Linked DNA regions of Homo sapiens: region 2 is linked to region 1. The links are contacts of gene promoters, found by promoter capture Hi-C in blood cells and fetal thymus (Javierre and others, 2016). All regions are on one chromosome and are shown on one strand. Each heading gives the region's core, a stretch centred on a gene start or on the middle of the fragment in contact. The rest is flanking DNA. Distances are from core to core; before and after follow the strand shown.

Evidence for each region. The method cuts DNA at HindIII sites, captures the fragments that hold promoters and counts their contacts. A CHiCAGO score of 5 or more calls a contact.
Region 2: a contact is called between a fragment that was not itself captured here and the fragment with the promoter of NEDD4L in region 1, in 2 of 17 cell types (activated CD4 T cells and fetal thymus). The highest score is 5.9, in activated CD4 T cells.

The regions. Positions count from the first base shown.
Region 1 is chr18:58,039,279-58,046,122 of GRCh38, reverse strand. It overlaps NEDD4L (NEDD4 like E3 ubiquitin protein ligase), which reads right to left and starts at 1,897. Exons shown (of 31, transcript NM_001144967.3): 1 at 1,415-1,897. The coding sequence starts at 1,462. RefSeq lists silencers at 1,263-1,812, 1,833-2,202 and a cis regulatory region at 4,092-4,504. The HindIII fragment of the contact is 1,832 bases long and covers 770-2,601 here.
Region 2 is chr18:56,633,720-56,638,653 of GRCh38, reverse strand. TXNL1 (thioredoxin like 1) reads left to right here and starts at 62. Exons shown (of 8, transcript NM_004786.3): 1 at 62-311. The coding sequence starts at 214. RefSeq lists enhancers at 1-24, 184-243, 25-1,010 and a silencer at 1-33. The HindIII fragment of the contact is 1,142 bases long and covers 708-1,849 here.

The DNA of each region.
Region 1 (6,844 bases), core at 648-3,147:
CTTTGATCAAATAAATACATCAAGCTTTGCCTAGCACCGCTAAGAAAAAAATTCATACCCTAAACACCCTTCCCACCCCAAAATACCTTTCATTCCACACTTACGTAGCACACAGGCACACACACACACCATGCCAGGGTAGGAGAGCCGCAGAAAGCGGAGCCATAACGCGAGCCTGTCTCAGATAATAGCCTTTCTTCCAACCCCACCCCCAACACGAGAGAAAGAGGGAACCTCTGAAAAGAAAGGAGGGAGGGGAAGAAAGAGAAATCGAGAACGCCTGAATTTCCAGGCATCAACTTTTCATGAAATGCACAACCAGGATAGGAAATACCTCCCTGCTGAGTAATGCTTCTTGGGTTGTAAAATTCACCTCTCGAAAGGGGAGCCAGACCTGAGCGCGCACCCCGCCAGATGGCAAACCACTCCTACCTGCTCCATCCAGCCTGCCTGTCACGCCGCGCCCGCGACAAGCGTCCCACCCCCCTTTTTGGCAGAGCAACATACCAATAAGAGCCGAGCGTGGCTGGTCGAGAGAGGACTAGGCAGTGATTTAGCAGGATTGTTTCAAAAGGGGGGAGTGGGAGACACGGAAGAGAGAATGAAGGTAAAAACAAAGCCCTTTCCAGTGAAACCGACCGCCTGGGAGGCGTGGCTTATTCAGTCGCTTTATTAATAAAAGAGATCAATTAAGCTTTCCTCTCCCCACCCACCCTGGAGGTGCCGGGCTTTGAATCCTCGGGAGGAAAAAATGGCAGGGCTGCAAGCTTCCTCCCCAAGTTTCCAGGAGCACCTGCCACCAGCCTTGAACACCTCCCCCACCGAGGCTCCGAAATCCACAATCCTGGCCGTAGACTTTGCAAAACGAGGGGAGGGACACACGCAGCGTGTCCCCCATTCCCGCCGGGATAAGCACGCACAGGCTTCTGAGCGCCTGCTGATCCACACAATCATGAGAGAGAAAGTTCCAGGGGGAAACGATCCGGCTTCTCCGCAGTCCCGGGTCTCCAGCCGCGCGACCCAGACGTGACATGCATCATGGACTCCCGGGCTGCAGGGGCGAGAGGCGGAAAGTTGCCCAACAGCCCCGGGAGACGCTGCTTGGAGAGGAAGAGGGAAGAGAGGCACGCATGCCCCCTCCCTCTCCTCCCGAAAGCGAGGAGCTGCGGAGTGAACCCCCAGCTCCAAGGGCGTCGCGCCGCTTTATTTACAAACAATGAGCTCGGCTTGCGGAGGGTGGGGGGTGCGGAAGGACCCAAGCTCCCCTGGATCCCGCTCCGGGGCGCTCCCGCTTTGGGGCTCCCCTGCAGACGCTGGGCACGAGCACCCCGGGGACGGCCCCTTTCCCCTCCCCCTGCCGGCGCGGGATAGGAACTCCCCGGGGAGTCCCGAGCAGGAAGGGGGTGCCACTCACCTCGTCTTCGGAAAGTCCATAGACCGGCTCCCCGAGCCCGGTCGCCATGGAGCCGGCGCCCCGCGCGGGGTCTGAGGCGCTCCCAGCGGCTGTGCTGCGGCGCGGACGGCCGGTTCTCCCCTCTGCCTCCAGGTCCCCCCGGTCCCGCACCCTACCCTGCGCACGCCCTGCCGGGTAAGCGGCCGGGCGCCGGCAGGTGAGGGTGCCCGAGAGCGCGCCCTGGACGCTGCCGGCACCGCTTCCTCCCGGAAGGCTGCGGGACCAGCGGGCGGGCGGCTCCCGAGAGCGCGCCGAGCACCGGGCGGCAGCCCCGGCGCCTCTCACTGCGCGCGGCGGCGGCGCAGACCCGGCCGGGCTTTCCCTCCCCGCGACCCGCGCCTCCCTCCCGCCCCGCCGCTCTCCGCCCCCCTCCGAGCCTCCTCTGCGCTCCCGGGGACCCGGCTCGCCCGCCTCCTCGCTAGCGCCGTCCGGGCCCCCGCTCTCTCCGCCCCCTCCTCCGCCTCCTCCCACCGGCGCCGCGAGGGTACCCTCCCCGTTCGCCGGGGCGGGCACACGCGCCCCCCAAGCCAATCACAGGCCGGGCTGGCGAGCGGGCCGCGGGCTGCGGGGGTGGCGGAGTTCAGCCCCACGCCCACCCCGGCCCGGGGCCTCCAGCGCGGCGCGGCGGGGGTCACCCGGCCGCGGGGCGGATCCGCAGGGGCGTGTACTGGCGCGCTTGGCCGGCGCCGCCGACCCTCCCTCCTCTCCCGGTTTCCCTCCGCTTTAGGGAGGGGGCGGGCTGGACGTTTGGGGGCGATAGAGGATTTTGCGAACAATAACAAAAACGCCCTGAGCGTTTCTTCCTCCCGGTGGTCTTTTTACCGAGAGCCCTGAGCTCGCTGTTAACTGTGAAAAGGGGAAAAGATGGATGTTTCTAGACCCCTTTAAATTCTTTGCGGCCCCGACGAGCAGGACTTGGCTACATTGTCAGCTCCCGGGAGCGAGCCGCCCGGCCCGGCTGCCAGCCGAGGAGAGGCTGCCCCAGTGTGGCCGCAAGTCGCCATTGCCTGTGTCAACCTTGCAGGGAACAAAACCAACATAGCGCCCGCCCCGGTTACACACCCACCCACGCGAAAACAGACAGCATGGTTCTTTGAATAAAAAGCAGTTCATTTGTGAGCCGCAACGTGAAATATCAAACTCAAGCTTAAGGTTATCCTTTGCATATGCAAATGATCGAGACGTCTTATTAGCCACCGTAGGATTCTTCCCACCACCCAGCTACCGTTTCTCTAGCAAGCAGTTCATTTAATCCTTCCGATTTATAGGACTGCAAGAGACTACTTTAAATAAGTGAAAGAAATTCGTCAGTCGACTTTTTCGGAAGCCTTTCCTTAAATTTAGATGTTAAGTGCAGTTGGGAGTTCAAAAAGAAAACAGACGCAGAACATTCCATTTGCCTTTGAAAAGGAAACGTCAAAGTGCCTACTTGGGTATTACCAGGATGCATTTAGGATTTTCATTCAAGGAAGTTCAGAGAGAACTCGCGTGACCCGAAGGAATCATATTCCTCGTTGCCAGCTACATAACTAAATATCTGCTGTTCGCCCTGCTAGTTCGTTTTCAAAAGAGCCCACCCATGCTACCTTAAGCTCTCCTTTGCCTTCCTGCAGCATGACTGGCTTAAAACCTGTGCCGTAGAATGGGTTTCCTTTGACGACTTAGCCCCATGGAGTCAACATCCTACTCAGAAGCCTTCTCTAGAAGTCTTGAGCCGTCAAGTCCACAGTACTTACAGGCCACAAAACCCCCAATGAGAACTATTTATGGAGGACTATTTAAAAGTCAGATTTCTGTCCATTCTTTCAATACTGAGGTTTTTCAACCCTTTCAAACCTCGAGTCTTTAGACCGGGCACGGTGGCTCAAACCTGTAATCCCAGCACTTTGGGAGGCTGAGGCGGGCGGATCATAAGATCGGTAGTTCAAGACCAGCTGGCCAATGTGGTGAAACTCCATCTCTACTAAAAATACAAAAATTACCCAGGCGTGGTGGCGGGCGCCTGTAATCCCAGCTACTCGGGGAGGCTGAGGCATGAGGATCCCTTGAACCTGGGAGGCGGAGGTTGCAGTGAGCCGAGACTGCGCCACTGCACTCCAGCCTGGACCACAGAGCGAGACTCCGTCTCAAAAAAAACAAAAACAAAAAAAAACAACCCTAAAGTCTTTTGATAAACAAAAGGTACACGTGCACACTCTGTCTTTCTCTCTCTCTCTCTCACACACACACACACACACACACACGCATTCTCAGATGCCCTTGCCCTAGCCTGTGACCCTCATGGATGGGAGTCAGTGCTTCTCTACCTACCCTCACTAGCCAAACCTTTGTAAAATTTGTACAGTTTATATTATAAAGGAAGAAAAGTAATTGAATAATAATGCTAGCATTTTGGGAGGCAGAGGCAGGAGGATCATTTGAGGCCAGGAGTTCGAGACCAGCCTGGGCAATATAGAGAGACCCCTGTCCCTACAAAAAAAAAAAAAAATTAAAAATTTGCCAGGTGTGGTGGCATGGGCCCATAGTCCTAGCTACTCAGGAGGCTAAGACTAGAGGTTCACTTGAGCCCAGAAGTTCAAGGTTACAGTGAGCTATGATCGTGCCATTGCACTCCAGCCTGGATGACAGAGAAAGACCCTGTGTCTCTAAATAAATAAATACATAAATAAATAATTCTTAAAATGTGCTGATAGAAAATTATAATTTCTAATTACACAGGACACGCCTTCCACATCCTGGAGGTACACAATTCCAGGCTTCGCCTTTGGGTAAGGCTATGTTATCTGGAAACTGTAGAGGGGTGTGGCAGTTTCTCTTCCTGTCTTTTATCATCTACTCCCACACACCCACCGCAACAGCCTATAGCCCTGCACTCAGGGTCATGTCCTTGTCTTTCCCTGAGGGATGGTTATTAGGAACTATAATATGAAACTTGCCATATGTCACTTATTGTGGGGTGTTTATAAAATCGTGATCCATGACATCAACATCCTCTGTGAGAAGACTAATAAACTAGACATTTATTTCAGATCTATGAAGAAAAGCTCTTTTGCTTTCAAGAAACTGGTAAGCTTTTGCATGGCAGATGACCAAAATTATTAAAACCGACTGTGTTTTTCTATCTACTTTGGCCACCAGGAAGCTCAGAACCAGTTTCATGGTCTTAAGCCATAAAAGAACCCATTAAAAAAAATCCCTTTTGTAACTATATACCAACTTTCCCCCAGTGCTGTGGTTCTCTACTCAGCATGTACATTGCAATCACCTGGGGAGCTTTCAAATAGACTAAGTGCCCGGTAACCAGCATCAGAGGCTATGATTTAATGGATTCTGACATCAGTAGTTTCAACAGCCTCCCAGGTGATGCTAATGTGCATTTAAGGCTGAGAACATCAGCTTAGTTTCCAAATTTTGCTATACATAGAAACATTTGGGAATTTTTACTACTGCTCCTCTCTGCCTCCCACTCCCAGGCGTTATGATTTAATTAGTACAGGGTGCCACATGGGCATCAGGAGCTTTAAAAGTTCCCCAGGTGATCCTAATGCACCACTGCCAAGTTTAGAGACATCTGGCCTAGATTTATATTACTATTCTTTTTTTTTTTCTTTTTCTTTTCCTTTTCCCCGAGAGACAAGTTCTTGCTCTGTTGTCCAGACTGGAGAACAGTGGCATGATCACAGCACACTGTACCCTCAAACTCCAGGACTCAAGTGATCCTCCCACCTCAGCCTCCCAAGTAGCTGGGACTACAGGAGCACACCATTGTACCGGCTAAGGTTTTTTGTTTTTTGTAGAGATGGGGTCTCCCTTGCCCAGGCTGGTCTCGAATTCTAGGCTTCAAGTGATCCTCCCACCTTGGCCTCCCAAAGTGTTAGGATTACAGGCATGAGCTACTGAGCCCAGCCTATATGCCTTTTCTTTATATATTTTCCACCACTCTGTTTTTTCATTCGTTTTTTTTCAACTTAGAGGAAATTGCATGTTATAAACACACTCAAATCTTTTGTGGAGTGAGGTAGAATATAAACAAACATACTTAGAAGACTAGCATCATCAATCAGTTTACCCATCATCTACTCTGAAGTCTCAGATTAGTAATCCAATTTCTTTTCTTTCTTTCTTTTTTTTTTTTTTTTTTTTTGAGATGGAGTCTCGCTCTGCTGCCCAGGCTGGAGTGCAGTGGCGTGATCTCGGCTCACTGCAAGCTCCGCCTCCTGGGTTCACGGCATTCTCCTGCCTCAGCCTCCCAAGCAGCTGGGACTACAGGCGCCCGCCACCACGCCCGGCTAATTTTTTGTATTTTTAGTAGAGACGGGGTTTCACCTTGTTAGTCAGGATGGTCTCGATCTCCTGACCTCGTGATCCACCTGCCTCGGCCTCCCAAAGTGCTGGGATTACAGACATGAGCCACCTAGCCCAACCTAGTAATCCAATTTCTTTGGGGGTGAGGGAGGACAACCCTTAAAGGGAACTATTCAGCAGGTGTATCAAAAGCAATGTTTCCTCCAGTCCGTTTTGCATCTACCCAACAATTACATAGAACCTTAACTTGTAGAGTCTCCTCTAGAATTCGTTTCCCTTTGTTCCCTTTGCAGGCTGCCTTTAGCATCTTAGATTTGATACTGTGGGTGTTTGGCAAATACTCTTCACTTGGATCATCAGAAATGAAAAATTAGCAGGAACAATTTTAAAGTACAATGGGTAATCACAAATAGGGAACATTTTAATGCTAAGCCTCTTTACAAATTATTGAGTTGTCTTAGCAAAACTATGTAGATCATAATCACATCTGGGAAGTACCCAAAGAAGAAGAATACATAATGTCACATGTTTAAGTTTCATATAAATAACACTCGATTTTTCTCTTCAATTTTCAGTGATGATTTGTCTTCTTTAAAAAGAAGGCCTATTAAGCAGACATTTCGAAGATGGCCACAAACCTGTAAAAACTGGTATCATCTTGGAACTCAGCACCATTCCTTGACACACAGAAATGTAACAAATTTAAGCCGTTTATGATCATATAAGAAATCTATATTATGCTTCAAATTTTTGACAAATATAGAGGTGGGTAGCAAAGAATGACTTGTAAATAGCTCATCTTTTTGTATAAAAATAGCTACATTAGGCCATTCTTGCAATGCTATTAATGAAGAAATGCCTGAGGCCAAGCACAGTGGCTCACACCTGTAATCCCAACACTTTGGGAGGCTGAAGTGGACAGATCCCTTGAGTCCAGGAGTTCGAGACCAGCTGGGCAACAAAGTGAGACCTCATCTCTAAAAACAAAAAATACAAGAATTCGCTGGGCCTGGTGGCTTGCGCCTGTAGTCTCAGCTACTCAAGGAGCTGAGGCAGGAGGGTCCCTTGAGCCTGGGAGGTTGAGGC
Region 2 (4,934 bases), core at 29-2,528, 1.4 Mb after region 1:
CTCTCCCCTCCCCCATCCCTCCCCGCCCCCTCGGCCGCTCCGCTCCCTGGCGTGACTCGGCACTGAGAGTCCCGGGAGAAGACTCGGCGGTCGCCACCTCTTCTGTCCAGGCCTCGGCCTTCCTGAGCATCTCTCCTTCCTCTCCCAGATCGTCTTCTCCTTCAGTTTCAAAGCCAGTGGCGTCGCGGCCACCCTGCCGGGCTCTCTGTGAGGATGGTGGGGGTGAAGCCCGTCGGGAGCGACCCGGATTTCCAGCCAGAGCTGAGCGGCGCGGGCTCCAGACTCGCCGTGGTCAAGTTCACCATGAGAGGGTGAGGCCAGGCTCGAGCTCTGTGGGTCCCCGTCTGTCCTTCCTTGCTTTCCTTTCACTCTTTGTTGGCCCTGGTTTCCTAGCCGTCTGCTGCCCCGGAGTGTCCGGCAGTCGCCGCAGCCCCAGGAGCTGCCGGAATTAGGCCTCGTTTCTCGGGTGTGAACCCCCATTTATGCACAGGGGTTCCTAGACGGGCTCGGGGGCCTGGCTGGCCGGCTTCTCCAGCTCAGGAGATTTCTCACCTGCTCCTTTTCAATTCTTTGACAAACTGGTTTTGGGGGTGGCCCGCCCCTATTCCTTCCAGCCTGTGGGAGTCTCCGCAGCCACCCTTGCCTGAGCCTGACCCCTTCTTTCTGCAGAGCCAGCTGTCATTTGCATCTCCAGAGCTCCAAAAGCTTAATTTACCGAACACTTTGTTTCTCTTCACCACCTACATCTCTCTAAAGCCTTTGAAGATTCAGATGGGGCGATCTAACTAATATGCGTAGCTCTGAGTCCTGAATTTCTGCTAATGCATTTCGAACTAAGTTAACGTTGGGTTAGGGTGCTTTTTAAATTATTTGAACTTTTTTCTTCCTCGTTCGGCCACTAACTTGTAGCTTAGGCTCCCCTATGTATGCGATTGCAACTGGTCACACACGACAGTACATATATAATATATTTCAGGTGGACAGTTGGCCGGATGTCTTAGTTTGACCCGGCTCTGTTTTTTCACTTAAGAGGACAGGGATCTTGAAAAATGTTAACTGTCTTTGGTAAATATCAACAAAATTATAGGTCGTAGAAAAGGTGGACCTTTTATAGTGGATGTGTAGTAAAGTTCCTTTGTAAGAATGACATGTTGGAACTCGGCGTTGAGAACCAAGATTTCAGCGTGTGTGTGTGTTTCACAGATCTCTCCTTGTGTATGTCGATAGTATTTAGTTAGAAGTATGAGAGGTTTCCGCTTTATTTTCCTTGACCCCTTGGCGTTATTTATACATCTAACTTGGAGCAGTCTACTGCTGGTATCACTGTTTATGTAACACACTTTCTTGTCCAAATAACTGTATAAACACAAAATTCCATTTTGAATTTCAGAGCAAAAAACAAAGTTTCTACTAGATGGTTCACTAAATGTTGAGTATATAAATGGTGGCATTAGGATTATATCGTTTTAGGGAATGGATGCAGATAGATATGAAAACAAGTTAAGACTTATTTTTGGACCAGTCTCTCTTACACTGAATTGAAAAAGGATAGTACCTTGCATTTCATATGGTGGGCTAGAGTACCCATATGATATACGGAATTTTGCATTTACTAAATTTAAAAGGATAAGTGATGTCATATATATAAAACACCTAAAAGGAATGTTAGAATTCTATAAATGTGTCTTCTCATTTTTAGCAATTTTGTGATGTCTGTATTCTTAATAATAGGGGAATACCTGTAGTACATTAAGTATCTAGGCCACAGTAGAAAAGGGAAGATAGGATTTCAATAAGGAACCTCACCTCACTTTTAGTTCACTTATTCTAATTCTGGCCCGTCGAAGCTTTTATATTTTTGTCCCTCAATGATATATTGTTTTTCTCCCTTACCATAGCAGTGGGAGAGATAATAAAATAATAAATAAATATTGATTGAAGTGAGAAAACTGGGGAAACATTGCTGCGAAGGAAGGTTTTTTCTATCAGTGTGGTGTCACTTAAGCATAAGCATAACTGCAGACATTGATTGGTAAGGAACTGTTACATTTAAAAAGGTATTTTAGTGGAATTAAAATTTTTTTTCTTTGTAAAAACCGAGGGAAAATTAATGTTTGGATTTAGAGTAAGTTCAAAAGCATATTTATATTACGTTTACAAATCTGGTAAGATTATTGTATTTACCTTTAATATTCCTCGAACTTATTGGCCATTAATACATCCTGTCTAAACTCATTGTCAATAGAACCCCAGAATTATGTATATGACGGGTCAGTATTAGACTCAGAAACAACTGTATTCAGTAAAATCTTGTAAGAATCCTCTTAGATCAAAGTTAATGCTGTCCCAGTTTAGACTGAGGGCATAGTTTCTCCAGCACCTATTTCATTTCCTTTCCAACCCTATTTTAAACCTTTTTTCTTTTTTTTTAACCTCTATGCTTTATGCACTCTCAGTCTAAATTTTACTAAAATGATACATAGATTGTTCTCCTGTGTAAGAATCTTTAGTGGCTTATGATAAAATATATATAACATAAAATTGACCATTTAGCCATTTGTAAGAGTATAATTCATTGGCATTAAGGACAGTCAGCCCTCTGTATCCATGGATTGAACCAAATGTGGATAGAAAATATTTGGAGAAAAAAAATTGCATTTGTGCTGATCATGTACACACTTTTTTCTTGTCATTATTTTCTAAACAATACAGTATAACAACTATTTACATAGCATTTACCTTAGGCATTATAAGTAATCTAGAGATGATTTAAAGTATATGGGAGAATGGTCGTAGGTTATGTGCAGATACCATGTCATTTTCTATTAGGCCCTTGAGCATCTGTGATTTAGTGTCTTGCTGGAGGTCCTGAAACTAATCCCCCAGATACCCAGACATGACTATACAGTCACAATGTTGTGCCACCATCACCACTGTTTCCTATAACTTTAGACAGAAATTCTATATCCATTAAAGGATAACTCCCCATCCTTACTTCTCCAAAGGGACAAAACTGTACCCATTAAGCAGTAATTTGCCCCTCCCCATCTACCTCCTTGGTAACTTCTATTCTGCTTTCTGTCTCTATGAATTTGTCAATTTGTGGCACCTAATATAAGTGAAATCGTAACAATATTTGTCCTTTTGTTTTTGACTTCACTTAGCATAGTATTTTCAAGGTTCATCCATGTCTTAGTATGTCTCAGAATTTCATTCTTCTTTATAACTGCATAACATAATCCATTTATTTATATGGCAAATTTTGTATACCTGTTCATTTTTTGATGGACATTCCAGTTGTGTCTTCCTTTGGCTGTTGTGGATAATGCTGCTAGGGGACATTGCTATGCGGGGATCCCTGCTTACTTGCTTGCTTTTCTTTTTTCTTATTTGTTAGAGACAGGGTCTTGCTCTGTTGCCCAGGCTGGAGTGCAGTTTTGAGACGATGGCTCACTGCAGCATTGAATTCCTGGCCTCAAGCAATCCTCCCACATCAGCCTCTCAAGTAAATGGGACTACAGACACATACCACCATGCCCGCTAATTTATTTTTTGTTTTAGAGACTAAGTCTCACTTTGTTGCCCAGGCTGGTCTAAATCCTGGCTTCAAGCGACCCTCCCACGTCAGCATCCCAAATTGCTGGGGTTACAGGTGTGAGTCACTGCGCTGGGCCTTCTGTGCCCATTTTTGAATTGAGTGGTTTGTTTTTGGGTTGAGTTGCAGGAGTTCTTTATATATGCCGGATGTTAATATTTAATTTGCAAATACTTTGTCCCATTCTTTGGGTTGTCTTTTTCTTGATGGTGTCCTTTGATGCATGAGTTTTAAATTTTGATGAAGTCCAATTTATCTATACTTTTGTTGCCTGTGCTTTTGGTGTCATATTCAAGAAATCATTGCAAGATTCAATGTCATGAAGATTTCTCCCTATGTTTTCATCTAAGAGTTTTATAGTTTTAGCTCTTAAGTTTAGGTCCTTGATCCATTTTGAGTTAATTTTGGTATATGTCATAAAGTTAGGGTCCAGTTCATTTTTTGGCATGTGGATATCCAATTTTTCCAACACCGTTTATCGAAAACACTGTCTTTTCCTCATTGAATGATCAGCACCCTTTTCCCAGAGTATTTTTTAAGGATTAAAATAGTCAACGCTTACATATTCCTTAGTCTGTGTAAGGAACTTGTTTAAGCTCTTATATTGACTCAATTCATTCCTCAGAATAACCCTAACAGCTATCCTTGTTTTACAGTTGAGGACATTGAGTCACAGAGAGGTTAAATAATTTGTTTAAGGTCCCGTTAATAAATGCATCGTTTGAATTATAAAGTGCTGTTCTTGATCTTTCCAGCCTAAGGAGAAAAGAAATGCACGTTCATCTCTGTGTATCTGCACAGAGCCTGACAATTTTCAATATGCCTTTCCTTAAATAATTTACACCTCTGCCTGCAATTCATTTCACTCTCTGATATTCTTTTTGGTAATATTTTTAAACAGTGTCTCCAAATTGTTACTTATGCCCAGATACATTTTAGTGGTTATGAGTAGTACCAGTTTTGTTGTTACTAAAGAGTTAAAAGAATATACATTGTGTCGTTCGTTGTCCCTGGTCTCCCCCCTCCCCACCATTAAACAGTGTGAATGATTTTTTTTTTTTTTTTTTTTTTTTTTGAGATGGAGTCTTGCTCTGTCATCCAGGCTGGAGTGCAGTGGCATGATCTCAGCTCACTGCAACCTCTGCCTCCCAGGTTCAAGCAATTCTCCTGCCTCAGCCTCCTGAGGAGCTGGGATTACAGGTATGCGCCACCACACATGGCTAATTTTTGTATTTTTAGTAGAGACGGGGTTTCACCATGTTGGTCAGGCTGGTCTCGAACTCCTGACCTCGTGATCTGCCCGCCTCGGCCTCTCAAAGTGCTGGGATTACAGGTGTGA